Regions from separate parts of the Homo sapiens genome. Here all the other regions are linked to region 1. The links are contacts of gene promoters, found by promoter capture Hi-C in human tissues and cell types (Jung and others, 2019). All regions are on one chromosome and are shown on one strand. Each heading gives the region's core, a stretch centred on a gene start or on the middle of the fragment in contact. The rest is flanking DNA. Distances are from core to core; before and after follow the strand shown.

Region 1 (2,573 bases), core at 28-2,527:
TTGCCTGTTTTGAGCTAGACCCCACTCGGCGCTACTACCCAGGCCCAGAGCAGTTCACCTTGAAACTCTGTGTTGTCAAGGCCCCTGATGGCCTCCACTGCATCCTCTGCCCGCTCCATGTGTACGAAGGCATAATCTTTCACGATGTCACATTCGATGACCGGACCATACTCCTCAAACTTGGCTCGAAGCTCTTGGTTGGTACAAGTGGGGCTGATGTTACCCACGTGTAACTTGGTTGAAGCTTTGCTCTTATTCTTGCTGGCTTCCACGTTGATGTTCACCCCATGAAGCTTGTAATGGTGCAGGTTGCGTATGGCATCCTCAGCTGCCGTCTTGTCTTCTATGTGCACAAAGCCGTAATTCTTAATGATGTCACATTCCAGCACCTTCCCATACTGCTCGAAGAGTGAGCGAATCTCCTGCTCTGTAGCCTCCCGGGGAAGGTTTCCGATGAACAGCTTCACCATCCTGACAAGAGCCTGGGAGAGAAACACAAGACTTCAAAAGTCAGGGGTGTGGTGGGAAATTTCGGTGCACTGCAGCATTTTCGTCTAATCCTCCAAAGTTCTTGCACCTTCAAGACCCTCGTACAGACATTCATTATTCTTCCTCAATAGAAGAAGGGCGGTTTGTTCTCGAGAAGTGCGAGCTATGCGTGACATGCAAACAGGAGGTCGAGGGTCAGCATGCATAGCCCAGTCTATCATCTCCGTGAAGTGGAGCGCAATGAAATACCAGAATTAGCTGCTTCATGTCTTAAAATGAGGGAAGAGAAAAGCCCAAGCAAAGGCAAGGGGCATCAATCGCAGTGCGCCTGGTAACAAGGTTTTGGAGGGAAATCTGTGTACCTCTCCTGCGCGCACTAGCGCCTTTCAAGATACTCTAAAAAGAAAAAAGTCCCCTTTCCCCCAAACCGGGGACCAACCACCTCGCCCCCAGCGGCCCACCCTCCAGCTTCTTCGCCCCAACAAAGACTCGACCCGACCCCTGCCCCGCCTCCTTCCGGAGACCCGGCCCCGCCTCCTCCCGTTGTCTTCCCAGACCTCCCGCTGCAAAATGAGAAACCCAAATCCGGGCCGTGCAGTCTGCCGGAGGCCCGGCCCGACCCGCCCCCGAGCTCCCCACATCACACACACACGACCCCCTCGCACCTCCGGGTGGCGGCAGCGACGGCGGCTCCCACGTCAGAGAGAACCTTACAAAATGGCGACGGCCGCTCGAGCCTGGACGCGACCGGGCCCTTTCTCGCGCGCCAGCTCACGCACGCGCGAGTGCGCGCTGCTTCCCTCCCCTTCCCCTCGCGGGAGCCGAGTGACCAATCCCGAGGCTGCATACAAATGACCACGCAGCACGGGGGCGGGGCCTGTTGGTGGTGGCGCGGCGCCGCGGAGGTCAGCCCACCCCCAGCCCCAGCCAGCCAGTCACCACCCTGGAAAGGGTCGCCACTGCTGCGTCAGAGGGGCTCTGAACGCAACCACTGCCTAGAAAAGCGGAGGCCTTGGGGAGTCGCTCACCACAATGGGTCCTGCTCTTGGGCCCTTTGAGGGGGGCGGGGAGCTAATGACAGAGGAATCTCCCCGAGGGCCCTAAAAAGGGGCTTTTGTAGCGGGCTGGCCGGCTTCTGTGGCAGCTTGGGGCAACATTTCAAAAATACAGGTGCGCCACATTTTAAGCAAAACTAGTCATTGTTTTGTAGCGCTTTAAACATTATTTTAAAGTTTGTCATTGCAGAGGTGTTATTTATTGCTACGGAAACTGAGAACCAAGGGGCAGAAAGATAACCTGGCAGAACTGGGACAGGCCTAAGAGGCATTGCTACCCAGGCTACGCTTAGTCATGTTTTGTTTGCTCGTGAGTATCCGTGGTCTGATTCTCTCTCACTCATTGTGTGTCCATCACAGTCCTGGTCTGTGGTGAGCACGCCAGAGGAATACTTGGTGGAGAGGCCCAGCGAGGTCCCTAGTTCTGGGTGGGACAGGGTCTCCTCGTACACACCAAGCTGGAAGTCTAGGCAACTGAGTTTCCCGACTGTCTAGCATTCAAAATTCAGCTGTGGTCCAAGGGCACCTCCTGGCGGTAAAAACAAGCTTAGGCGTGCCAGGTGCGGCGGCTCACGCCTATAATCCCAGCACTTTGGGAGGCCAAGGCGGGCGGATCACGAGTTCAGGAGTTCGACACCAGCTTGGCCAACATGGTGAAACCCCGTGTCTACTAAAAATACAAAAAATAGCCCGGCGTGGTGGCGGGCGCCTGTAATCCCAACTACTCGGGAGGCTGAGGCAGGAGAATCGTTGGAACCCGGGAGGCGGAGGTTGCAGTGAGCCGAGATGGCGTCACTGCACTCCAGCCTGGGTGACAGAGCAAGACTCGGTCTCAAAAAAAAAAAAAAAAGAAGTTTAGGCTGATTCCCCACTGTCACCTTCCAGCAAAGAGTAGCCTTTTATGGAGATTGATGGATTGGGTTTATCTCCTAGTAGAGCCCGCCAGGGAGGTTGTCAGCCACCATTCCTCATTTTAGTGGCTCCATAATGGCTTCTCTGATACCATCTGGGACACATTCCCCAGGCTGC
Region 2 (2,573 bases), core at 1-2,500, 400 kb before region 1:
AGACAGACCCATGCGCTGCCTGCCCACCGTGCCCCTTTGTCCCCATGTCAGGCGGAGGCGGAAGGCCCACCGTGCCAGAGGCTGGGCACCAGCCTTAACCCTCACTCTGCTAGCACCTCCTCCCTTTCCCCAAGGTAGCACATCTGGCTCACTCCCCACTCCGTCTCTGGAGCCCACCAGGGAAGGCCCTCATCCCCTGCCGCTACTTCTCTGGGGAATGTGGGTTCCATCCAGGATTGGGGGCCTCTCTGCTCACCCACTCTGCACCCAGGATCCTAGTCCCCTGCCCTCTGGCACAGCTGCTTCCTGCAAGAAAGCAAGTCTTTGGTCTCCCTGAGAAGCCATGTCCCTCGTGCTGTCTCTTGCCTGTCCCACCTGTGCCCTGCCCTCCAGCTTGTATTTAAGTCCCTGGGCTGCCCCCTTGGGGTGCCCCCCGCTCCCAGGTTCCCCTCTGGTGTCATGTCAGGCATTTTGCAAGGAAAAGCCACTTGGGGAAAGATGGAAAAGGACAAAAAAAATTAATAAATTTCCATTGGCCCTCGGGTGAGCTGAGGGTTTTTGCAAGGAAGTTGTGGTGGCCAAGTGTGGTCTGTGGTCTAAGCCCAGCCTTGGGGTGGGGGGATGGAACTGGAACCCTGGGCTTGGTGGGGTGCACGGGGGTCCTGGCTTGGTTTCTGTGTCCTAAGGCTGCTGGCAAAAGCCCTTGACCCCGTTTCCTGAGGCCAGGAAAGCTGCTTGTGCTTCTGTGGTCTGTCCCCAAGGGCCCAGCACCGTTCTGTCAGGGAAAGAGGCAGGCGGCCATCAGCTCATACCTGGCGTGCCGCCGCCAACTCCCGCGGGGCACACGGCAGAGGTGTGGGGTCGCGCAGCCGCTGAGAGGGCCCCCACTGCACCTGGCCCAACCTCCTTCAGCGCCCCCCAAAACCCCACTGCTCCCATTCAGCCCCTGTCCTGGCGTCATTGTGTGTCCCAGCCAGGTGCTTCTGCCGTCTCCGACAGTGACAAGTGCCTCGCACTTCAGCCTTTGCCCTGAGCGCCCGCCCGAGGGGGCCGAGTGCGGCTGTGCCGGTGGCTGGAGTGCCGAGGGGTGCGGGGTGCCGGGGGCGGCCGCGTCTACGCTGTCCGGAGGGTGAACGGCCGCGGGCTTGTCGGGGCTGGGGGTGGCGCCCGAGCCGGGCGGGCAGACGAGGGGCCCGCGGAGACCCAGCCCCGCCCGAGGCCGCTCGCGCGGCGGCCCCGCCCCCGGCTCCGCCCCGCCGGCTTCGCGGGCTGGAGAGCGAGGGAGCCGCGGGCGAGGGATCGCAGGATGAGCGATCGGGGCCCGGGCAGCCGGCAGCGGACGCGCCCCCCGAGCCCACCGGCCCGCGCCCCGCGCCCCCCACGGCCCCGCGGTCCCGGTCCCGGCCGCATCACCCACGTCCCCCGAGCCCCACGGGCCATGCCCGGCCGGCCCTAAGCGCGGGCCGGGGGGCGTCCCCTTGCGCCCGGGCCCCGCGCTGGCGCCCCCCGGGCCGCCGCCCGGCGCGGGGGCCATGGCGTTCACCTTCGCCGCGTTCTGCTACATGCTCACCCTGGTGCTGTGCGCCTCCCTCATCTTCTTTGTCATCTGGCACGTAAGGCCGGGCTGGGGCTGGGGCTGGGGGCGGGGTGGGGGGCAGGGGCCACGCGGAGCTGGAGGGACCCAGGGCGGGTGGTCTCAGAGCCCAGGGGAAACTTGCTATCCCCCAGCCGTCGGCTTGTCGGCTTCGCCCCCATTAACACCCCCCGTGGTCGGCTTTCTTCCCGGGGCCCCCCTTCCTCCGCCGCCCCCGCCTGTCTGTGTGTATGTCAGTCGGTCTCTGACCCCCTCCTCTGCCCTCGTCCTCTGCTCCCATGCAGCCCGTGAGGTGGGGGGTGGAATTCTGGCATTTTTGTTGCTTTATCTTCTATGTCCCCCCCCACCACCATCCAGCCGCCTCCATTAGTCCGTCGGGCAGTTTGTCTGTCTGCTGCCCCCCCCCCCCCGCCTTTGTGGGTTTTTCCAGCCAGAGTGATGGAGCTGGTTGCTATGGCAACTGCATCTGTTTACAGGACCCACAGATCTCAGAGTCCATTAACCCTTTGCCTTCCCAGCCCCCTCCCTGACCAAGCAGCAGTTGGCTCTCATCAGCCCCCAGAGACCTAGCCCCCACCACCGGCTCACCTTGGGTTTCCCTACCCCTCCTGTTGGGGGCTTCCCAGCCCCCCAGGTTTCCTCTCCATTTTCCAGCTTCCCTCCTCTTCCTGTCCCCCTTCCCCTTTGTCTCTCACATACCCCTTGGTCTGTCCCTCGCCCTGGCCTAGCCTCACACCTGGTTCTTCAAAATGTCCATTCCTCATCCTGCATCCGACCCATCGCTTCCCCCAGGCTCCCTCCTCCTCCCCTCCCGCTCCTCTCCTCCAGGGCCTCCTCTGCCTGGCTCCCGTCCCCTCACTACAGAACTATCAATCAGCCTCCAGCTGGTTGTTGGGGGCCCCTGGCCCCACTTTACTGCCCTCCGTCCCCACCCCCACCCAAACCCCGTGCCTGTTTCTGTAACAGCCTGCCCAGCTCG
Region 3 (2,573 bases), core at 44-2,543, 360 kb before region 1:
TCCGGGTAGGGTATCTGTGGCTCTCTGTCCTCTGGGAAGCTCGGTCTATAGGCCAGGGCAAAGTCAGGCGGCTGCGTAGGCTCCATCCACAGGATCCCAGGCATCTCCGTCCAGCCACCGTTGAAGGCCTTCCAGGCCTCGTCTTCATCTTCCTCATCCTCCCCGTCATCCAGCAACTCATCTCCGAGGTCCTGGGAAGCCTGGGCACCCATGGCCCCTGCAGGGCTGCAGCTGATGCCATCAGCCTCCAGCTCATGTCCCTCGCTACAATAACACTCGAAGCCACCAACGTAGTTGACACACATCTGCTGGCACACACCGGCAATCTGGCACTCATCTGTGTCCACACAGCGGTGCGGATCATCCTCCGCTGGCCGGAAACCCAGGCGACAGTGGCAGCTGTAGCCTTGTGGCCCACCGGGCTCACACTGCTGCTCGCACGGAGCCTGGGCACAGGGGTCCTCGCAACTGCGCCCGTCTGCTGCCAGCCGGAAGCCCTCAGTGCAGCGGCAGGACACGTGACCATCCACCTCCTCCACACATTCGTGTTCGCAGCCCCCGTTGTCAGGGCTGCAGCCAGTCCCCAGGCACAGGGGCCCAGCCCGTGACCAGCCCACACCTCCCTCAGGCTGCTTCACGCAGAGCAGAGAGGCTCCCCTGCCAGCCTGGCACTGCACAGCGGCCACAGAGCCGAAGGGCAGCCACTCAAACTCTGTGGAGACCAGGTGGAAGGGCGTGGTATACACGGCTGGGCCGGCCTGGCCCGCCTCATCTTGCAGCGCCGGGCAGGCGCCCTCGAAGCCAAACTGGCACAGGTAGCCGTCGACAGCCAGCGTGCACGAGCCCTCCAGCCAGCGGTGCTCGCCACTTGCCTCCAGGGCCACACAGCGCTGGGCCGGGCAGGGGCCTCCAGAGGCTGGCTGGGCCCAGTTGGTGAAAGCCGTGTCCTGGTCCCCTGTGGTCCACGTGAAGCCGCGCAGTGGGCGCTGCAGCTGGCATTGCCGGGCCTGCCGCTGCAGCCCGATCCACAGCAGCCGGCTGGCTGGGCCCGCACCCACCAGGCTGTCCACACGCTGGGCCTCCTCGGGGGTCCGAGGAGTGGCCAGGTCGCCCCCCAGCTCGCGGCAGGCCCGCCAGGCCTCCAGGAAGGTGCGGCGCCGTGGGAAGAGAGCGTAGCAGCTGCTGGGGCCGCAGGCGGCACGGGGCTCAGCAGCCCAGGGGTCCTGGCCCAGTGTGGGCCCTGCGGCCGCCCAGGCCAGCAACAGGCGCAGCAGCATCGCGATGCCCCCGGACTGGTCCGGCCCCGGGCTGGCGGCAGCTCTTGACAGGGGGAGGGCCTGGGGCCTCCTGCGGGCGGGCCGGGGGCGGGCCTGGGGCCGGGCTCAGGCCTTGTAAGGAGTGGGCTGGGGCGGCTGCCAGCTCCCTGCTCCCTCTTCCCCGGGGGCCGCTAGAGCAGGAAGCAGTGGGGTGGGGGGCTCTAAGGTTGGGGGCGGAGGAGGGGAGAAGGCGCAGTTGACGGCTGCCCCAGGCCCCATGGGGCTGAGAGTCAGGGGGTGGGAAAAGCCTGCCTGCCGAGCTCTGTGACCCTCAAGTTGGGGCTCGGGGCTGTGGGGTGAGGTCGCTTCCCAGAGACTCAGAGACCCAAATCTGGACACAGCAGCCCCATCACACCCGGGAGCAGTCTCAGCCCAGCTGCTCGCCATGCACGGGAACACCCTCATGCCCACTCCTTTCTTGCCCCACAGACGCGCGCATGCGCCTCCCCCACCCCCAACCCCATGCAAGAGTGCACTCTCTGCCAAGCTGTTTGTCCCTTCACCTCACCGTGGACCTATGCTGGCTTGCAGATGACTCCCTTGCCACACGTACACACATTCTGACATGCTGAGACCCTAGGTGCACATACAAAAATGGTGTGGCATTCTACATGGCCTGACATATGAAGACCTCCGATTCGGCCTGAATGGAAACAGCTTGGTCACCCAGGCACAGGCATCCTCAGCCTCTCATTTATTTACTGAGCCCCTGCGTCAGCCTCTCCCCCTATACTCAAGCTTTCTGGTTCCAGCTGGGCCAGCGTGTGGGGGTGTTGGGGGAGTGAGGGGGCCAGGGGCTGCCCTCCCCTCACCCCAGCTCAGCCTGGGGCCCTGGGAACCTGGGCTTAGAGGGGGAGGAGGCAGCCCCTAAACAGGAAATGCCTCTCTGGGCTCCTGCGTCAGGAAGGCAGGGTGCGTGGTTTAGGGGGCTGGGTGGGGGCTGGGCTGCACGCAGGATGTGGAAGGCTGTGAGGGGACCCATGCAAGGCCATGTATGGGCATGGGGCACACAGTGACATATATGTGTATATGTGACACAGGCATCACGTGTGTGGAGCCCTCCCTGCCCCCGGGGCCTGCTGTTTCGGCCTGGCCAGGGTCCTCTTCCCGCCCTTCCTGGAGGCCTCTGGAGGCATGTGCACTGAGCCCATCATCCAGGATGGCCTCTGGGGAGCTGGCTGGCGGATTAACCCATGCACACCCGCTGCACTCTTAGCAGAAGTTAGAAACAGTGTGGGGAGGTGGGGGAGAGGTTCC
Region 4 (2,573 bases), core at 34-2,533, 340 kb after region 1:
TCCTTTGGGAGGAGGTTGGGAATCTGCCCGTCATTCCTGAGTTCCAGATCTCCAGGAGTGAGTCCCTGTCCTCACAGGTGCAGGCCCCAGAGTCCGGAAGGAAAGTGGGTATAAGTGGCTTGAGCCGGATCAATTCAGTGTAATTGACACGCAGAGTGGGGAGGAGCAGCTCAGCCAGGCAATATGTAGTGTCTCAGGTTGCAAAGGGGTCTTCAGGGACCACCCATAACATAACTTAGTTGGGGCTAGGATCCCTACCAGGCACTTTTATTTACATATCTCCCTTGATGGGGAGCTTGCCCCAACTCGGGGTCATTTTCACTGTGGGGGCCCTGGCCATGCAAGCTCTTGTGTCTGCCGAGCTGATACCTGCCTCCCTGCAGCTTCCTCAGGGTGCTGGTCCTCAGGGCGCTGGTGCTCAGGGCCTGGCAGGGTTGCACCTTCTCCCCTTTCTCCCTGCAGCCCTTCCAGGAACTGAGTGAGCGTCTGGGCCTTTCTCGTCTTCAGCCAGGGCTCCTGCCTCTCTCCTCTTTGTCCCAGCCCCAACCCTGACAGTCAAGGCCTTTAGTCCTTGAGCCCATCCCATTCACCCTTCGAGGCTCCTGGCCCACAAGCCCCCTCCCTGGGCCAGGATCCCACCAGCCAGTTACCTTGTTACTGAATGGATCCTCCCCTGTCTGTGTGTCTTCTCAGGAGGTTACAGGCCCCTGTCAAGTGTGGCCCCCGGCGCAGGGCCTCCCTGCCCTCCACTCAGCTGCAGTCTGCTCAGCGCCCTTAGCACAGGCTGGGGCTAATGCCGTCTGCGTTCCTTTCCTGGGGCTGCCATGACACATTACTGCAAATTTGGCAGCTTACAAAACCAGAAATTAATTCTCTCATAGTTCTGGAGGCCAGAGCCCAGAATCAAGGTGTTGGCAGGGCTGGTTCCCTCCAGACGCTCTCCGGGAGAATCCATCCCAGGCCTCTTTCCCAGCTTCCGGGGGCTGCCAGCAACCCTTGATATTCCTTGGCTGAGGGTTTCATAACTCCAGCCCCTGCCTCCGTCTCCACGTGGCCTTCTTCTCTCTGTGCCTTCATGGCTGAGATGTCCCTGTTTTCTTTCTTATAAGGACACCACCCATCGCATGTAGGACCCACTGTAAATCTAAAGTGATTACAGCTTGAGATCCTTCACTTAATTACATCTGCAAAGACCCTATTTTCAAAAAAGATGACATTCGCAAGTGCTAGGTGTTAGGACTCAGATGTATCTTTTTGGGGGGTCACAAGTCAACTTGCTGCAACCATCCCATCAGCCTAGATGTGTGTAGATGTGTCCGGGATCAGGGAGGGTGTCCCTTCACCTCCACATCCCATGGAAAGTGCTCATTGGAAGGAGTGAAGATCTTGTTAATGAGTTTGATGACTGTGAATCCAAGCAGCACGCCCAGAGCAGATGCCTGGGGTAGCTGAGTATGAGGGCGGGGAACAGGCGAGGACCCACAGATCCAAGGGCTGGCTTCCCTGACGCACCCAGCACCAGCTTCTCTGGAGAGGGTTGGAGAAGCGGCTCCTGCCGGGCTGCCCTCTGCCAGGCACTGAGGCCGGTCTGTGAGCCAGGCAGGGGACCCAGCAACTGGGAGCTTGGGGCCTTGTGGGTGAGACCCAGACTGGACAATAAGGGGCTGAGGGATCACAGTGGAGGTAGGACTGGGGTGGAGGTGGGGGTAGCAGGCAGGCCCCAAGGCTGTTTTGACTGATTTGGAGGCAGCCTTGAGGCATGGCATGGGGGTCTGAGAACCCAGAGGGGCCTAGGTGCCCTGGCTGGCTGTCCGTGGCCCACAAACCTGGCCAGGTTCCCTGTCCTGCCCTCCAGGGCAGCAGGGATCCTCGTGGCCTCCTTACTACCACTCTCGACGCTCCCTGGAGGCTGGTGGCAGTCAGGCTGCCTTGGGTATATGCAGGGTGGCTGGAATGAAGTAAAAAAAAAAAAATTATTTTTCACAGTAAAATATTCCTGCATCACGTAGCTCCCGCCACAAACTACTTAAAAGACAGCTGCTTTCTTTGTCTAGTGCCAAACTTTCTAGATGCAAGTCCGCTGAGCCGGTGTGCACCTTAAATAAACTCCTTCACCCAATTCGGTCTCTCTGGCCCCTTACTTTCCCACAACAATGGGAGATCCCTGCCTTGCATCCAGAGCCGCGGCTCCTTCTTAAGCTTCCCCCAACCAAGGGGATCCCGGTGACAGGTGGAAAGGCAGCGCAGGTGTCTTGTGGAAGTAGAGACCAGTAGTCCCTGGGCAGGGGGTCGCAACAGGAGGGCAGGGCGGCCAAGGCCAATGCTGGGAGAGCAAGTCCCTGCCACCCCTGCTGGCCTCAGCCTGGCCCCATGAGTGCTGGCCTCCAATGCAGGCCCAGCTCCTCAGCATCCTCTCTGCACCCCACAGGCTGCTCTCCAATGATCTGTGCTATGGACAGCTGCTTCCAGGGGCCACATCTTTACCCTGGTGTGGAGGCGGTGGTGGGGGGTTGTGGCATGATGGGAGTCCCAGCTGGGAACAAAGGGAAGGGAAAGGGAAGGGCTTTCTCTCC
Region 5 (2,573 bases), core at 45-2,544, 300 kb after region 1:
CACTTTGTTCGAGGGCTTGCTGTGTGCCAAGCCCTGTGGACCACATTTAATACGCACAACAATTACCCAAGTTATTTGTCCCTCTTACGAATGAAGGAGAAAAATGTGCCCAAGGTCACAAGGCTGCAAGGAATGAAGCTACAGTTTACCCAGAGGCAGTTGGTCCTCAGAGCTTGAGTGCTCAAGGATAGTGCTGTGCTGCTGGGACATTAGGGGCAGCGCTGGGCCTGGAAAAAATCCAGGCCTCCTGACTCCTAGCCTGGAGCCGTCCTGTTTCCTTCTGTTTCTTAAAAAAAAAAAAAAAAAAAAAGAAATTCTCCAGTATTGTATAACACATATACCATAAAGTTTACCATTTCAACCATTGTTGTGCAACCAATCTCTGGAACTCTTCATCTTATGAAATCTGAAAATTTACAGCCATTAAATTCTTCATTCCTCCCTCCCCCAGTGCCTGGCAACGGCCATCCTCCTTGCTGTCTTTGTGAATGTGATTGTTCTAGCTTGGAGCCATACTGATGCTTTTTTGAAAAATATATTTCTTTTTGAGACGCAGTCTTGCTCTGTCACCCAGGTTGGGTGCAGTGGCACAATCTCGGCTCACTGCAACCTCCGCCTTCTGGGTTCAAGTGATTCTCCTGCCTCAGCCTCCTGAGTAGCTGGGATTACAGGCGCCCGCCACCATGCCCAGCTAATTTTTTGTATTTTTAGTAGAGACGGGGTTTTACCATGTTGGCAAGGCTGGTCTGGAACTCCTGATCTCAGGCAATCTGCCTGCCTCGGCCTCTCAAAGTGCTAGGATTACAGGCGTGAGCCACCGGGCCTGGCCCAATTCTTAAAAGGCTGTCTCTGTTTGGTTGTTAAGCCATGGTGCTCAGTGTCAATGGATGCCGGGGCCATAGAGATTCAGAGGAGAACAAACTCTTCAGGGATGAGGTAGTCAGGGAAGCTGCCTAGAGGAGAAGGAGGAGAAGGAGGAGGGGGGAGGGAGAGGGGAGGGGAAGGAAGGGGGAGGGGAGGGGAGAAGGAGGGGGGAGGATGGGGGAGGAGGGAGGGGGGAGAGGAGGGGAGGGGGAGGGGAGGGGGAGGGGGGAAGGATAGGTGAAGGAGGGAGTGGCAATTTCCTCCCCTTGGCCTTCACTCCTTGACCCAGAAGGTGGGGAGGCAGTGGTGAGGTGACTCAGGGATGCTTGGCCCTGTGGCCTGCCCTTTGATTTATGAAAGCCACCTTGGCAGCACCAACCTTTGCCCCCAGTGATCTCTTGTCAGATGGGTGGAGGCACTGGGCCACCTCAGAGGGCCAGTGTCTTGCTGAGGGGCCGGAGCAGTCCTGTGCCTGCAGCCTCCGGAGCCATGGGAACAGGGCTGCGAAGTCAGTCCTTGCGAGAGCCCCGACCCTCCTATGGAAAGCTGCAGGAGCCCTGGGGGAGGCCCCAGGAGGGCCAACTCCGCAGGGCGCTAAGCCTCAGACAGGGGCAAGAGAAGTCCAGGTCCCAGGGCCTCGAGAGAGGCACAGAAGGGCCAGATGCCACTGCCCAGGAGCGGGTGCCGGGGAGCCTGGGGGACACAGAGCAGCTGATCCAAGCCCAGCGAAGAGGCAGCCGGTGGTGGCTGAGGCGGTACCAACAGGTATGGCTGTGGGCTGAAGGATGGAGGGTACCACAGCAGGTGGGCAGGGATTCCAGGGCAGGAAAGGTTCAGAGACAGAGCCAGCCCAGGCTGTGTACCAAGATGACAACCGAGCTGCCTGGAGATGAGGGTGCAGAGAGAGACACCCCAGAGCCACGTTTCAGAGGGCCCTGAAGGCATTTGGGATTTATCCCACAGGCACTGGGGAGCCACTGAAGGTTTTAGAGGAGGAGGGTGATATGGTAAGCGCTGTTTTTAGCTGATTGATAGTATGCTGGATGGGGGAATAGAGCAGGAGGCAAGGAGATCAGCCAGTGCAACTTCCTGGGAAGTACACTGTGTGACCCTCTCACCCCAGAGAAAAAGGGGAGATCTGGACCCCTTTGTGGGGGGCTGCAGGCTCCCTCCTCTAAGAGACAGGGTCTCCAATGAGCAGTGCTTCTCTACCTGGGGTCTACCCCCACCTCGTGGCTATGGGTGGAACAACATCTAAGCCCACCACTCAGCCCATGGGACCTCCCCCACCTCTGTCTTCCAGCAGGTAAGAAGAAGGTGGGAGAGCTTTGTCGCCATCTTCCCCAGCGTGACTCTGAGTCAGCCGGCCTCCCCGTAGCCCACACTGGGCACCATCAGCTAAAGATGCTGGAAGCCATCGTGGCCCCCTTGCTGTGCCTGGACCAGCCCACCGTGTCTGCTGACCTACCTCTTCACAGCTCTCTGGACTTTGGCTGGGTGGCCCTAGGAGGCTTCTGCCACCAGCTCACTGGAGTCGCCACGTGGCTGCCACTCTTAGCTCTGGCCCTTCCACTCCAGCACTAGCTCTCTTTGAAGATCCCAGCAGGGTCAAAAAGAAGGGGGCTCAGCTGTCTGCCCTCTGGGCTTGGGTAGGGGCCTTGGACTATGATTCTATGAAGGTTTAGAAGAAGCCTGCCCGGAATGGGGGC
Region 6 (2,573 bases), core at 28-2,527, 280 kb after region 1:
ACAAGTGTTTGCATCACATACAGGGAAAGGGTGCCTTGGGGGAGGCCAGCCAGGGCTGATGGTGGCAGTGGGTACGGGAGCAATAGGGAGGCAGATGGCAGGCACTCTGGAGGTTCTGGTTGTCATCAGCAAGTGTTGGTACTTCTCTGAGCCTGTTTTCTCAGCTGGAGAACGGGTAAGGAGCCCAGGCCTACCTCTTCTCACAAAATAAAGACACAATCTGATTTTTTAGAATTTCAGACGAGGCACGCCTGTAATCTCAGCACTTTGGGAAGCCAGGGCAGGCCGCTCGCTTGAGCGTAGGAGTTCGAGACCAGCCTGGGCAACATGACGGAACCTCGTCTCTACCAAAAAATACAAAAATTAGCTAGGCGTGGTGGCGCCCGCCTGTAGTCCCAGCACTGGGGGACTGTGGCAGGAGGGTCGCTTGAGCCCGGGAGGTCGAGACTGCAGTGAGCCGAGATCGCGCCACTGCACTCCAGCCTGGGTGGGTGACAGCAAGACCCTGTCTAAAAAAGAAAAGAAAACAAAAGAATCTCAAAGTTGCCAGGGACCTAGGGACTTGGCTTCCGACTCTGATGCGCTTTGTAAACTACTAAAAGCTGGAGAAATAAGGGGCTGAGCCCAGCCCCACCTCCTGAATGAGCGGCCTTGGGCGAATCACTGCGTCTGGGCGCCTGGAGCTTCCCCGTCTGAAACAAAGTAGAGGATCCTACGGGAGGCGGAGTGCGAGAGCAAGGAACAAGGAAAGCCCTCGCCTTACACGCCGCGGCTTCCTGCAGAGCTGAGCCACATCCAGTACGATGGGGACAACTTGGGCTCCCGATCCTGACAGACTTGGGTTCGAACCCTCAGGGACCTCGCGCGAGGCGCTTTAGTCAGTTTCTCCATCTGCAAAATGGGCCCGAGAGCAAGAATGAGGCAGCCCGCAGGCGGACGCTGCGGAGGGGCGCTCGGGGGCTGCAGCCGGGGGCGGGTCCGGGGGCGGGTCCAGCCGGCCGAGCCCCCGCGCGAGGGGGAGGGGCGCCGTCCGCTGCGTCGCGTCGCGCACCGCGCACAGCCCGTCGCTGTCTCCTCCAGCCGTCACTCGCGGAGCCCGCGCCGCCTTTGCGCGCGCGACCCTTACATAAGCGTCCCTCGCAGCGGTGCCGGCGCACGTCCACCCGCTCCGACCCGCCGCGGGAAGAGGACCGTGCGGAGCGCGGCGGACACTCACCTCCTCGCCGTCGCCAGTCCTCGCCGCCGCCTCTACCGCTGCTGCCTCCACTGACAGAGAACAGCTGCGGTCTCCGTGCAACCGAACTTGCTGCAGTCCCGGCCCCGCCTTACGGACTTCCTATTGGCCCAGACAGCCCAACCCCTCCCGTTATTGGGCAGTGTTCTCCGTCACTCCTCGCCCCTAGGCTCTGGACTCCTCCCTGTGCCCGCCTGTCCGTCACGTTTAAGCCTTGGCGCCCCACGTCAGCCCCGCCCCTCCCGTCCCCGGCGAGCGCCTGGATAAGTGGCGAGGCTGGGAGAGCCCGCCCCTGGCGCACCACCGCCTACTCCCTTGTCTCCGGAGCCTCACGTGGGCCGCCGGACCCTAGCCGACGCCCGCAATAGGCGGAAGTGGCCGGGCTGTGGCTCGCAGTTATTGGCTGTCGGCGGGGGTGGGGACGTTCGATTCATTCACCCGAGTAGCACGTGTCTCCCGAAGCTGCAAGCACAACAGTTCGCACTGGGGCTCAGGCATCCCGGCTAGACGCAGATACGCGCTGGCTAGCGGAGAAGAGGTCGCAGGAAAAGCTAACGTTAGCGAAGGGCAGGAGGAAGGAGAAGGCGCTTGTGCCACACGGGTTACATGACTATGTCCTTTAACAGCTGCGTAGATGATGATGGGGGTCTACAGTACGTCTGTGTGACCTTGGGCAAGCAACTTAACCTCTGAGTCTCGGTTTTGTCATCTGCAGAGCGAAGCTACTCAGGACCTAGGGGGTTTGGAAGCCTTGTTTGAGACACAAGACACTTGACAAGACCCAAGACACTTGTCAAAGAGGAAAGCTTTGACAAGTGGAACAAGTGACTGAGGCATAAGTCTCTGTCATCGAGGCTTATTAATCCAGTTTGAGGGCGTGCTCGGGAAAAACACGAACCACAGACACATCCGTGGTTGTTTTTCCGAAGAGGTTTTCGGGAGGTTTAGTATTTATGCATTTCCTTAAAGGGGGAATGAGGGGAAGGCATGTAGGAAGAAGGGCAAGTAGGCGATTAGGACAATAGTTACATTCCTATGGGACTTTAGCTAATGCCCGGTAAATCTACGTAAGATGAGATGAATGTCTGAAGAGAAAAAGAGAGTAAAGGAAGAGTCAGTTATGCAGATGTCTCTGAGTAGGTAGTTTTGACTTTGTTCTGCACCTGGGAAAATAAGCTTGTAATGACATTCTTATTGTGGAATTTTTAGGAGCTAGACTTAGATTGTAGACCTGAAGCTACAATTGACCTGTCCTTGTTTATGGGAGGCCAGCAAGAATTTACTTGTGAATGATCTGTGGGGGCAGCCCTTCCCAAATGCCTGAGGTTTTTACCTTTCC

The links. The method cuts DNA at HindIII sites, captures the fragments that hold promoters and counts their contacts. A contact is called where the count stands out against the background at its distance.
Region 2: a contact is called between the fragment with the promoter of CNIH2 here and the fragment with the promoter of RBM4B in region 1, in 1 of the 25 tissues and cell types used here (heart left ventricle).
Region 3: the fragment with the promoter of CD248 here is called in contact with the fragment with the promoter of RBM4B in region 1 in 1 of the 25 tissues and cell types used here (dorsolateral prefrontal cortex).
Region 4: a contact is called between a fragment that was not itself captured here and the fragment with the promoter of RBM4B in region 1, in 1 of the 25 tissues and cell types used here (mesenchymal stem cells).
Region 5: the fragment with the promoter of C11orf86 here is called in contact with the fragment with the promoter of RBM4B in region 1 in 3 of the 25 tissues and cell types used here (liver, mesendoderm cells and thymus).
Region 6: a contact is called between the fragment with the promoter of PC here and the fragment with the promoter of RBM4B in region 1, in 4 of the 25 tissues and cell types used here (heart right ventricle, hippocampus, lymphoblastoid cells and 1 more).

Annotation. Positions count from the first base shown.
Region 1 is chr11:66,676,610-66,679,182 of GRCh38, forward strand. RBM4B (RNA binding motif protein 4B) reads right to left here and starts at 1,278. Exons shown (of 4, transcript NM_031492.4): 1 at 1,155-1,278; 2 at 59-482. The coding sequence starts at 470. RefSeq lists silencers at 891-1,000, 1,201-1,480. The HindIII fragment of the contact is 6,531 bases long and covers 1-2,573 here.
Region 2 is chr11:66,276,925-66,279,497 of GRCh38, forward strand. It overlaps CNIH2 (cornichon family AMPA receptor auxiliary protein 2), which reads left to right and starts at 1,251. Exons shown (of 6, transcript NM_182553.3): 1 at 1,251-1,613. The coding sequence starts at 1,533. RAB1B (RAB1B, member RAS oncogene family) reads left to right here. Exons shown (of 6, transcript NM_030981.3): 6 at 1-568. LOC107984340 (a long non-coding RNA gene) reads right to left here and starts at 1,601. Exons shown (of 2, transcript XR_001748274.1): 1 at 1,571-1,601. RefSeq lists a silencer at 1,027-1,356. The HindIII fragment of the contact is 9,186 bases long and covers 1-2,573 here.
Region 3 is chr11:66,315,751-66,318,323 of GRCh38, forward strand. CD248 (CD248 molecule) reads right to left here and starts at 1,294. Exons shown (of 1, transcript NM_020404.3): 1 at 1-1,294. The coding sequence starts at 1,277. RefSeq lists an enhancer at 43-739 and a silencer at 1,223-1,492. The HindIII fragment of the contact is 8,045 bases long and covers 1-2,573 here.
Region 4 is chr11:67,012,968-67,015,540 of GRCh38, forward strand. It overlaps a transcript of SYT12 not described here. Among named protein-coding and RNA genes, the nearest start is that of SYT12, 8.9 kb to the right of the region's middle. The HindIII fragment of the contact is 3,268 bases long and covers 1-2,573 here.
Region 5 is chr11:66,974,010-66,976,582 of GRCh38, forward strand. C11orf86 (chromosome 11 open reading frame 86) reads left to right here and starts at 1,295. Exons shown (of 2, transcript NM_001353554.2): 1 at 1,295-1,629; 2 at 2,168-2,573. The coding sequence starts at 1,354. The coding sequence ends at 2,242. RefSeq lists an enhancer at 1,976-2,479. The HindIII fragment of the contact is 14,679 bases long and covers 1-2,573 here.
Region 6 is chr11:66,957,106-66,959,678 of GRCh38, forward strand. PC (pyruvate carboxylase) reads right to left here and starts at 1,278. Exons shown (of 23, transcript NM_001040716.2): 1 at 1,217-1,278. RefSeq lists enhancers at 1-72, 1,236-1,285 and silencers at 936-1,035, 1,356-1,715. The HindIII fragment of the contact is 6,851 bases long and covers 1-2,225 here.